Regions from separate parts of the Homo sapiens genome. Here region 1 is linked to region 2. The links are contacts of gene promoters, found by promoter capture Hi-C in blood cells and fetal thymus (Javierre and others, 2016). All regions are on one chromosome and are shown on one strand. Each heading gives the region's core, a stretch centred on a gene start or on the middle of the fragment in contact. The rest is flanking DNA. Distances are from core to core; before and after follow the strand shown. Region 1 has its middle 120 kb from the start of LINC01709. Region 2 holds the start of NTNG1 (netrin G1).

Region 1 (5,587 bases), core at 2,196-4,695, 5.6 Mb after region 2:
AAGAATCAGTGAGCTCGAAGATAGGCTATTTGAAAAAAACAGTCAGAGAGTAAAAAAAGAAAAAAGAATGAAAAGCATGAAAATATTTCATAAAATTTAGAAAATTACTTCAAAAGACCAAATCTAAGAATTATTAATTTTCAAGAGGCAGTTGAGCAAGAACAAGGGGTAGAAAGCTTATTCAAAGAGAAAAAAACAATAACAGAAAACTTTCTAAATGTGAGAAAGAGATAAATATCCAGGAACAGGAAGGTCAGAAAACACCAAACAGATTCAACCCAAATTAGACTACCACAAGACCTATAACAATTCAACTTTCTAAAGCTAAAGTGATAGAAAGCATCCTAAAAGCAGAAAGAGGAAGAAAAGCAAATAATATATAAACAAAGCTCCAATTCATCTGGTGACACAATTCTCAGTGGAAACCATACAGGCCAGGAAGTAGTGGGACAATATTTTCAAAGTAATGAAAGAAAAAACTACCCTCCAAGAATACTGTATTCATCAAATCTATCTTCAAATATGAAAGGTTTTTCCTCAACAATCAAAAGCTGAGAGAATTTACCACCACCAGACCCGTCTTACAAAAAATGCTACAGACAGTCCTTCAATCTGGAAGGGAAAAAAAAAAACATTAACATGCAAACAGATAATTTTTCAAAGTATAAAACCCACCGGTATAATTAAGTACATAGAAAATCACAGAATACTCTACTACTGCAACAGGTGTACAATCTATTCATAACTCTAGTGTGAAGCCCCAAAGGCAAATCTACAAAAAACCATAATACCAACAGTAACCTGTTAAGAGATTGGCAATATAAAAATATGTAAATCAAGACAACTTAAAGTCAAATGGGGGACAGAAGTTAAAATGTAGAATTTTTGCATTTTTGCTTTTTTTAACATTCTTTGTGATCTAAGTTTTTATCTCTTTAAAATAATTTATTTTATCTATAAGATGGATTTTCTAAGTCTCATGATAACCACAAATGCAAAAACCTATAATAGATTCACTAAAAATAAGAATGAATTAAAACACACTATCAAAGAAAATCACTTAACCACAAAGGAAGACAGTTAAAAAAAGAAGAAAGAAAGAAAAGAATTACAAAACAACCAGAAAATAGACAACAAAATGATAGTAGTAAGTCTTTACTTGTCAATAACAACACAGTGTAAATGGACTGAATTCTCCAATTAAAAGGCATAGAATGGCTGAATGAATAAAGAAGCCCCAACTATATTCTTCCTACAAGAAACCCACTTCATCTCTAAAGATACACATAGACTAAAGCTGAAGGAGTTAAAAAAGATAATCCATGCAACTGGAAATAAAAAACAAGCAAGAGTAGCTACATTTATATGAGATACAGTAGACTACAAATCAAAGACTGTAAAAAAAAGACAAAGAAGGTCACTATATATAATGATAAAAGGGTCAATTCAGTAAAAGGGTATAACAGTTATAAATATCTCTTTATCTGACACTGGAGCACCAAGTATATAAGTAAACATTAATAGATCTAAAGGAAGAGAGAGACAGATGGCAATACAATAACAGTAGGGGACTTCAATACCCCAGTCTCAGTAATGGACAGATCATCCCAACAGAAAATCAACAAATAAACATTGGAGTTAAGCTACACAATAGACCAAATTAGCCTAATTGACATTTACAGAACAATATACGCAACTGATATAGAATTCACATTCTTTTCATGAGTACTTAAAACATTCTCCAGAATAGACCATATATTAGGCCACAAAACAAGTCTCAGCAAATTCCAAAAAAGTAGAAATTATATCAAGTATCTTTCTGACTACAATTGAATTGAACTAAAAATTGTTAACAAGGGAAACCTCATAAAATACAGAAACATTTTGAAATTCAGCAACTTACTCCTGAATGAGCAATAGGTCAATGAAGAAATTAAGAAATAAATTTACATTTTTTAAACAATTAAAAATGGAAATACAACATAGCAAAATCTATGGGATACAGCAGAAGTAGTACTGAGAGGGAAGTTTGTATCAATAAATACCTATATCAAAAAGGTAGAAAGACTTCAAATAAACAACCTAATGATGCACCTTAAGGAACTAGAAAAGCAAAAACAAATCAAACCCAAAATTAGTAGAAGGAAAGAAATAATAAAAATCAGAGCAGAAATAAACAAAATTGAAACTAAAGGCAGATAATCAACAAAGTGAAAACTTGATTTTTTAAAAGACACACAAAATTGGCAAACCTTTAGCTAGATTAAGAAAAAAAAAAGAGAGAAGATCAAATAAATGTATTCAGAAGCCAAAAAAGGAGACACAACAACAGAGATCACAAAAATAAAAAGAATCATTAACAACTATTATGAACAACTATATGTCAACAAATTAGAAAACCTAGAAGAAATGGATAAATTCCTGAACGCATGCAACCTACTATGATTGAACCATGAATAAATAGAAAACCTTAACAAACCAGCAACAAATAACAAGATTGAAGCCATAATAAAAAGTCTCCCATAAAAGAAAAGCCTAGGACTTGATGGCTTTACCACAGAATTCTACCAAATACATTTTTGAAATCTAATGCCAACTCTACTCAAAATCTTTAAACAAATCAAAGAGGAGAGAATATTCTAAACTCATTCTATGAGGCCAGCATTGATACTAAAATCAGGCAAAAACATAACAAAAGAAAGAAAACTACAGGCCAATATCCCTGACGAACATAAACACAAAAATCCTCAATAAAATACTAACAAACCAAATTCAACAACACACTTAAAAAAGCACACACTGTGATCAAATGGGATTCATCCCAGAGATGCAAGGATTGTTCAACATACATAAATCAATAAACATGATACATCACATTATATGGTTTGGCTTTGTGTCACTACCCAAATTTCATACTGAATTGTAATTCCCAATGTTGGGGGAAGGACCTGGTGGGAGGTGACTGGAGCATGGGGGCATAGGTCCCCCTTGCTGTTCTCATGATAGTGGCTGAGTTATCATGAGATCTGGTTGCTTAAAAGTGTGTAGCACTTCCCCCTTCACTCTCTCTCTCCCCTGCTGCCATGTGAAGATGTGCTTGCTTCCCCTTCACCCTTCCATCATGATTGTAAGTTTCCTGAGGCCTGCCAGCCATGTTTCCTGTACAGCGTGCGGAACTGTGAGTCAATTAAACCTCTTTTCTTCATAAATTACCCAGTCTCAGGTAGTTCTTCATAGCAGTGTGAGAACCGACTAATACATTACATTAATACAATCAAGGACAAAAACTATGATCATTTCAATAGGTGCCAAAAAAGCATTCAGTAAAATTCAACATTCTTTCTGATAAAAACTCTCAACAAAGTGGGTATAAACGGAACATATCTCAAAATAATAAAGACTATCTATGACAAACCCACAGCTAACATCATATTAAACAGGTAAAATTAAAAGACTTTTCTCTAAAATCTAGAAGAAGACAAGGACATCCACCTTCATTAATTTTTTTTTTAAATAGAGATGGGGTCTCACTCTGTCACCCAGGCTGGAGTGCAGTGGTGTGATCATGGCTCACTGCAGCCTCAAACTTCTGGCCTAAAGCAATGTTTTCACCTCAGCCTCCCTAGTAGCTGGGACCACAGGTGCATGCCACCACACCCAGCTAAATTTTTTTTTTAACTTTCTGTGGAGACAGGGTCCCACAATGTTGCCAGGCTGGTCTTGAACCCTGGACTCAAACAATCCTCCCACCTTGCCCCCCCCCCCGCAAAATGCTGGGATTACAATCATGAGCCATTGTGCCTAGCCCTTTCTTACTTTTATTCAACATAATACTGGAAGTACTGACCAAAGCAATTAAGCAAGGAAAATAAATAAAACTTATACAAATTGGAAAAGAGGAAATCAAATTGTCTCTATTTGCAGATGACATAATGTTATACTTAGAAAAACCTAAAGATTCCATCAAAAAAACTGTTAAATTTAACTGATAAATTTGTTAAACTTGCAGAATACAAAATTAACATACAAAAATTAGCAGCATTTATATATGCCAACAGAAAACAATCTGAAAAATAAACCAAGAAAGCAATTCCATTTAACACAACTACAAATAATATAAAATACCTAGGAATCAATTTAACCAAAGTGAAACATCTGTACAAGGAAAACTTTAAAACACTGATAAAAGAAATTGAAGAGGACATGAAAAAATAGAAATACATTACATGCTCACAGATTGGAAGAATTAATATTGTGAAATGACAATTCTACCCAAAGCACTCTACAAATTTAAAGCAATCTTTACCAAAATACCAACGTTATTCTTCACAGAAATAGAAAAAACAATCCTAAAATTCATAAAGAACCACAAAATACCCCAAATAGCGAATGCAATCCTGAATCAAAAGAACAAAGCTGGAGGCATCATACGATTTGACTTCAAAATACACTACAACATGTACTACAAAGTAACCAAATAAGTATGGTACTGACATAAAAGGACATATAGACCAACAGAACAAAATAGAGAACCCAGACGTAAATGCATGTATTTATAGCCAACTCATCTTTGACAAAGGTGCCAAGAACATACAATGGAGAAAAGACATTCTCTTCAATAAATGGTATTGGGAAAACTAGATAACTATATGCACAAAAATGAAATTAGACCCCTATCTCTCACCACATATGAAAATCAAATCAAAATGGATTAAAGACTTAAATGCAAAACCTGAAACTACAAAAATACTAGAAGAAAACACTGGGGAAATGCTCCAGGACATTGTTCTGGGCAAAGATTTATCAAAAACACAGGGAGTAATGAATGCTGGTGAGGGTGTGTAGAAAGGGCAACCCTCATACACTGTTGCTGTGTGTATAAATTAGTAAGGCAGCTGTATGGAGTACAGCCTGTATGGAGGCTTCTCAAAAAACTTAAAATAGAACTAGTATATGGTCCAGCAATTTCACTACTGCATATATATCCAAAAGAAAGAAAATAAATATATTGAAGACATATCTGCATTCCCATGTTCATTGCAGCACTATTCACAATAGCCAAAATATGGAATCAACCAGTGTGCCCATAGATGGATGAATAAAGAAAATGTGGTATAGATACACAATGAAATATTACTGACCCATAAAAAGGAATGAAATCCTGTCACTTGCAACCACATAGATGGAAGTGGAGGTCATTATGTGAAATGAGACAATCACAGAAAGATAAATATCGCATGTTCTTGTTCAAATATGGGAGCTAAAAAAGTGGATCTCATGAAGATAGAGAGTAGATTGGTGGTTACCAGAAGCCAGGAAGGGTAGGAGAGAGGGAGGATGAAGAGAGTTTAAATAATGGGTATAAATATACAGTTTGATAGAAGAAATAAGACCTAGTGTTTGATAGATACCAACTGGACTACAGTTTACAATAATCTATTATATATTTCAAAAACTAGAAAAGAATGATTTGAATGTTTCTAACATAAAGAAAAGATAAATATTTAAGATGGTAGATATCATAATTACACTGATTTGATCTGTACACATTATATGAATGTATTAAATTTTCACATGTACCCCATAA
Region 2 (5,738 bases), core at 2,377-4,876:
GATTCTGCAGCTAATTCCCTTCCACCTTGGATTAATTTTGCAGAAGCCATTTTCACAGGCCCTTTCTTTCACCAGAAAAAAAAAGCCTCCCAAAATATTACATGGAAGTAATAATGGTTAATATTACAGGCAATTATATTCCAAAAGCAATTGCCAGTTTCATCAACTGAGAGGAAGACATTATCAGTAAATCTCCTAATCTAGCTGGTTTTCAGCATTCATTTTATTATATAATCTCACTAGCAGGTGGGAATGGTGGTAGTAAGCTATTTTTTTCATAAATATTCAGCTTTTCAGGGGTACCTGAAATACACAACTATTGACTCATTCCTCATTCACATTAAGAATTTTATAAATATGCATGTTTCTGAATGGGAAGGAACAAAAGGAAAATTGACTATATAGATCATTGAGTGAAAATATAAAAAGATAAAGATATACAAAATTATAACCTATCAAAATTAGCAGCTTCCAACAGTCATAATGAAATTTATTACATAAGATATTTTAACATGTATTCAATGCTCTTTGCAGCTATTTGTTCTGAAGAAAGCATTTTCTAGTCAACTTAATGGAAAACATATGCTTCTATCCTTTTGTTAACTGTCTCTCAAAATATAAGGAATTTAATATGTACTGCAACATCATTGGCATAGCTTACTCACACTTGATTGGGTATTATGAGCAACTGTCTATCATGAGATTCTTAATAAACCCAAATAACACACCGTGGTAATTGAAAGATCTCTATTTTCATTGAGAGAAGACTGATTCAAGAAATTAGATAGCACATGTTTTGCAGGATGATTGAGGATGGGATAATACCCAAAACTATTTCAGAATCAGTTAAGCCTAGAAGAAATCTGGAATTTAATTACCACATGAAAAACAAATATTTAATTCTCATGCAGGGAAGTTCAGAGATCTAAGGTCTCAAACGCATATATGAGAAAATCTACACCTACCTGAAGTTTTGAAACAGAACTTTGGATTCTGCAAATAAAATTATTTTTTAAAGTATGCTAAATCTCATACTAACCTAAGACTTTACTAATATAATCTCCTATACAATATAATTCACACACATATATTTCAATGTTAACATATAATTGGTTTTCAAAGTTGAATCCAATTTTCTTTTTTCCAAGTGACTTGATGCCTTTGTAACTAAAACTCTCCAAATTTTTATGACACTTAGAAATCCTATCAAATAAATGTGTAATGGTTTAACTTTTTAAACAAATTACCTGAATATTTTTCAGAATAATAATGGAAGCAAAAATAGGTATTTGCACCACTTGCAAATATACAAAAGGAAACTGCAAAATACATTTGCCTCCTCCTAAAAAGGCTAACCTGAATCATTTTAACACATATACCCATTGAAAACTGACAAAACAAAAATATTAACAGGAAACCAGCTTTATGTTCAAATAAACTGTTTCCATGCAAAAGTTTTAAGATTATCCGTCTTAAATTCCACAGTAAGGAAATACCACCAAATTAGTAGTGCAGTATATAGAATCCTGAATGCCTTCATGGTGGTCTTCAGTGGGTGAAATATATCTCATTTCACGGCATCCAGAAAAGAAAATATATCCCTGGAACAACATTACATGTGAAATACTTGATGCACATTTTTCCTTGCATGTTGATCCACATGCAGAGATCCAAATTTTATCTTAATGAAAAATCGAAAGTTGCTTATCTTCAAAAAGAATCTTGGACAGTTACTGAGCTGCTTTTCCTTTGCCAAAGAGAAAGGGAGGCGGGTAAGGCATTCAAAGTGACACAGTTCAAAATACTTAATGAAATGTGGAATTGCTAATTCCCTCACTAGAGATCCTCCTCAAGGGACAAACAAAACAGAAAAGCCTCCCCTGAAAAAAAAAAAAATTATTTTTTGGAAAACTTTCCAACAAGCTTAACTACTAAGCATATCTGAATAAGTGATTTTAATGGAAGATCTTCCTGGGTTTTTTTTTTTTTCATTTCTGTAAGATAAAACAACTTTTAGTATTTTCAGTCATAAAACAGGGCCTTATTTCTAGAGCAATTCTACTGCCAGATTCACCATATGTTTAGTGGAGTTCTGAATCTTACTCAGAATTTTCCATTCCAAAGATTGACAATTTGTTATGAGGAGTGGCTCCATTATTCCCTGTATAAAGAGAAGAATGGGTGAGAGAGGAGGACCGTCTACTCACTGGAAATCTGTACCTGATGCAACTATAGGAGCTCAACCTGCGACTTTTCCAAGTAAAGTTGCTTTAAAATCCCCGCTAGGAATTTTCTTCCCTTGCCCTGTAAGATGACAGCCTACTCTTAAGTGGATTTCTGAAGGAAAAAAAAAAAAAGTCCCCGGGTGAGGGTACTAAAATTAACAGCAGAGGGCGCAGTTTCTTTTTATATCTAAGTTTTTCCTTGTATGAATCACTTAATTGGTTATTTTAGGCCCAATAATATTCAGTATTATTTGTATTATATATAGATATCCACAGATCCATACAGGAGTGCAATTCAGTGTCCCTAGCCGAATCCATCAACCGATTAATATGATGCCAGTAAAGAATATGAGAGAATATTCCAAACAGCATCCCTACACCAAGTCTTCCTCTTTCAATTTCCCTTTCTCCCCAGCTGCACAACATGGGATAGTAATGTTTTAATCTAGCACCAATAAAGGCGATTAAAAGAAGGGACTTCAAAAGCTCTCGATGTGGCCACCAGATCCCCAAGGCCGGCAATAGGGCAAGTGTTTTTTTGTTTTTTTTGTTTGCTTTTCCCCAAACAAATATAATTGGCGAAAGAAAGAAAAAATAACGACAAGCCGCCTGAGCGATGTGTGTGGCCAGGTGTGCGTGAGAGAGGGAGAGCGCGGGGCCCCTGTCAGTCGGCGGATGGAGGCTCAGACCCCACGCCTGGGCTCCGGACACAACAAGAGGACGCATCACCGGCCCGGGGCGCACCCCCGGGAAGACTTGTGTGTGGGTGTGAGCGTGTGCCGCTGTGTGTGCGCGTAGGGCTCCGCGCGCTGCCTCCTCGGGGCGCTTTACAAAGTTCCTCGCCCACCCGGAGCCTTCCCTCCCGCCTGTGCATCGCAGCGGGTGGGGCGGGGGGCGGCGGGGGGTGGGGAAACCCGGGGGAGAGGGGCACGGGCGAGAGGCTCGGGTCGCAGTAGGAGAGGCGAGCCGCAGGCACTTACCGTGTGGCTCGTTTGCCCTTGCGCCGGGCGGGAGCCGAGCCGACGGCGCGGGGCGGCGGCCCTGCGCAGCCAGCCTGGTCCGCCTCGGGCGGCGGCCGCAGCAGCGGAGCCCGCGGGCGGCGTACGGGCGGAGGGCGGCAGCTCCCGCGGAGCCTCCTCCCCAGGCGGGAGCGGGCGGAGCGGGAGGGGTGGGCGTGAGGACCCGAGCCGCCGCCACCGCCGCAGCCCGGGGATTCCGATCGCGCCCGGCCGCCGGCGGGAGAGGACCCCGAGGACCGAGAACCCAGCGCCGGCCCGCCACTCCCCGCCGCTTAATTACCTTCGCCTCCGCCCCCGGGGGGAGCCTCCTGCAAGTCGCCCCCTCTCGGAGCCCGCACCCAGAGGGGGAATTCCTTCCCGTTGACGTCCTCTTCCGAAATGCAAAAGATCAGTGACTTTGACAGGTAGATGAGGGGGAGGGAGTAAGGGTGGGCGGAGAGGAAGAGAGGATGAGAAAGGTGCCTCTCCCTCCAAAAATATAGTGATATTAATAATGAGATCTCAGCCTTCGGAGGTCGTGCCAGCCCAGTCCCCTGCTCGCCGGCTCTCCTCCGCGCCTCCTCGCTCCGCTGCCTCTGACACTTCTCGCCTTAAACTTTTACTGAGGGATATTTTTTCTTTTTTCTATTTCTATTTCTTTTTTTTTTCCTCTTTTTTTTTTTTTCAAGCCGCAGGACGATTTTCTGGTTCCCGGGGATCAGAACCAGCGGCCAGGCGGTTCTATGCCGCTTGGCACCGCTTTCATTTTATTTCAGATGAAGACGTTGAGCTTAGTCAGAAGGGGCATAAATCAGGACAATTAGCATTGGCGCCAAGAAGATCCTCTAATACCAATTTCGCCCGGGTTTCCTTCGCGCATTCCTCCACTCAAGTCAGAAATGTCACTGCACATAGCACTGATGGCAGTGAGACGCGACGCACCCAAAGTCCGTTTGATGAAATATACATGGCCCACGACGCTTCTGGATTGCGGCTCCCGGACTCCCCGCCCCCACCAGCGGCTCCCGGCCGGGACCCTGCTCCGAGCGGGCAGCGAGCTCCTGGCAAACTTAGGGGCCAGTGCCAATTAAAGAGTGAGCGCGAGAGCCGGAAAGAGGAGCGGCAAAGAAGCAAGCCCGGGGAAGCCGCAGCCCTCGGAGGGGTGGCATGTACGTTTCACTTAAAAAGCAGATCTTCTTCTGCAACTGCCAGCAAGTGGAAGGATAGCAAACCTTATACTACCTCGAGACCTGTGCGCTCCGAGCGGTCCTAACTCCGTCCCGCTCGCTGTTGCTGTTGCTGGTGCTGCTCCGGCTGCAGCTGCTGCCGCTCCACGACCTCGGGGCGCTGAGGCAACAGGGCCCCCTCCCTCTACTCCCCATCCCCCCCGGCTCCTCCACAGAAGCGCCGTTTCCAGTAACTCCTCGTGTACCTCCCACTTCTGCCGCCGTCCATCCCACCCCTCTCTCTTCTGTCCCCTCCCCAAACCGTTCCCAAGCACACCCTTCGCCGCTGGAAGTGATCACAATGTTGTTTTTCAACAAGCACTTCCTTTGCCCGGAGGCCCCTACAGCCCTAGACTGGAAACTCCTCCTTTAGAAATTCATTCCCCTTTAAAAAGTTGAAGTTCAAGGGAGAGCTGCGCATTTCAGGCTTCCTTGCCTTTTCTAAGAGAAAGACAAATGCTCCGATGCTCCAGGCTTCATTCCCCACCAAGGCGGGCTCAGACTCACCTGGGATCACTCTTAGCTACACATTAACGTCAAACAGAAACAAATCCGAATTTAGATAAGATAGGGAGACTTCCATTAGAAAGAAAGACTATTGCAACAGGGAAAACGCTCTGATCTCAGAAATCTGCAAACCTCTCAAAACCAAACAGAAATCGGCCTTTTTTTTCTATATATATAAGGGGGAGCAAGCAATAGGCAAAGCCAAGTGGATGGGGGAAACAACTCACTTCAAGACCCTCTTGGTTGAACAAGAAATGTGTCTCTGTGGTCCAAGAATTTGGAAGATAAGCTAACAATGGTGAATGTTTCACATTTTAGTTCTTGCTCAGATTTGGGGGGCAAGCTAAATTCCAGGGACCTGCTGGAGAGAAGCCTGACTCATGTTTGGTCAAGGCAAAGTGGCGGGTGGGGGGGGGGTGGAAGAAATGGGCAATTGTGAACACTTAGTCACTATGTGTCCCACAATTAAGGCAGGAGGCTGAGTAATTGGGTCATTTTTCTGTGATGACTGGGGGTGGTGTGGTAAAAGGATGGATGGGGGAGAAGTTTGTTGAGTTGGGCCTATAACCAGGCCCTCCTTGGCCCTGGGCAGCCAGGAAGTGGGCAGGGATTTCAGGCACCCCCAGCCTTCCCTCTAACACCTAAGAGGCCACAATAAGTCGCCTTCGGAATCTCTGAGTGCAGGAATCTGGGATTCATGTGCTTTCCTCTTTCCCACCTTTGTCCTGTAGTGCTGACATTGCAAAAAAGAGTTACCTGCAGGGCTGAAACTCCTACCAAGG

Evidence for each region. The method cuts DNA at HindIII sites, captures the fragments that hold promoters and counts their contacts. A CHiCAGO score of 5 or more calls a contact.
Region 1: a fragment that was not itself captured here is called in contact with the fragment with the promoter of NTNG1 in region 2 in 3 of 17 cell types (total CD4 T cells, total CD8 T cells and non-activated CD4 T cells); the score reaches 11.4 in total CD4 T cells.

The regions. Positions count from the first base shown.
Region 1 is chr1:101,514,368-101,519,954 of GRCh38, reverse strand. No RefSeq gene overlaps it. Among named protein-coding and RNA genes, the nearest start is that of LINC01709, 120 kb to the left of the region's middle. The HindIII fragment of the contact is 6,534 bases long and covers 179-5,587 here.
Region 2 is chr1:107,138,927-107,144,664 of GRCh38, reverse strand. NTNG1 (netrin G1) reads right to left here and starts at 3,626. Exons shown (of 8, transcript NM_001113226.3): 1 at 3,525-3,626. RefSeq lists silencers at 2,932-3,211, 3,232-3,521 and an enhancer at 3,455-3,986. The HindIII fragment of the contact is 6,022 bases long and covers 1,926-5,738 here.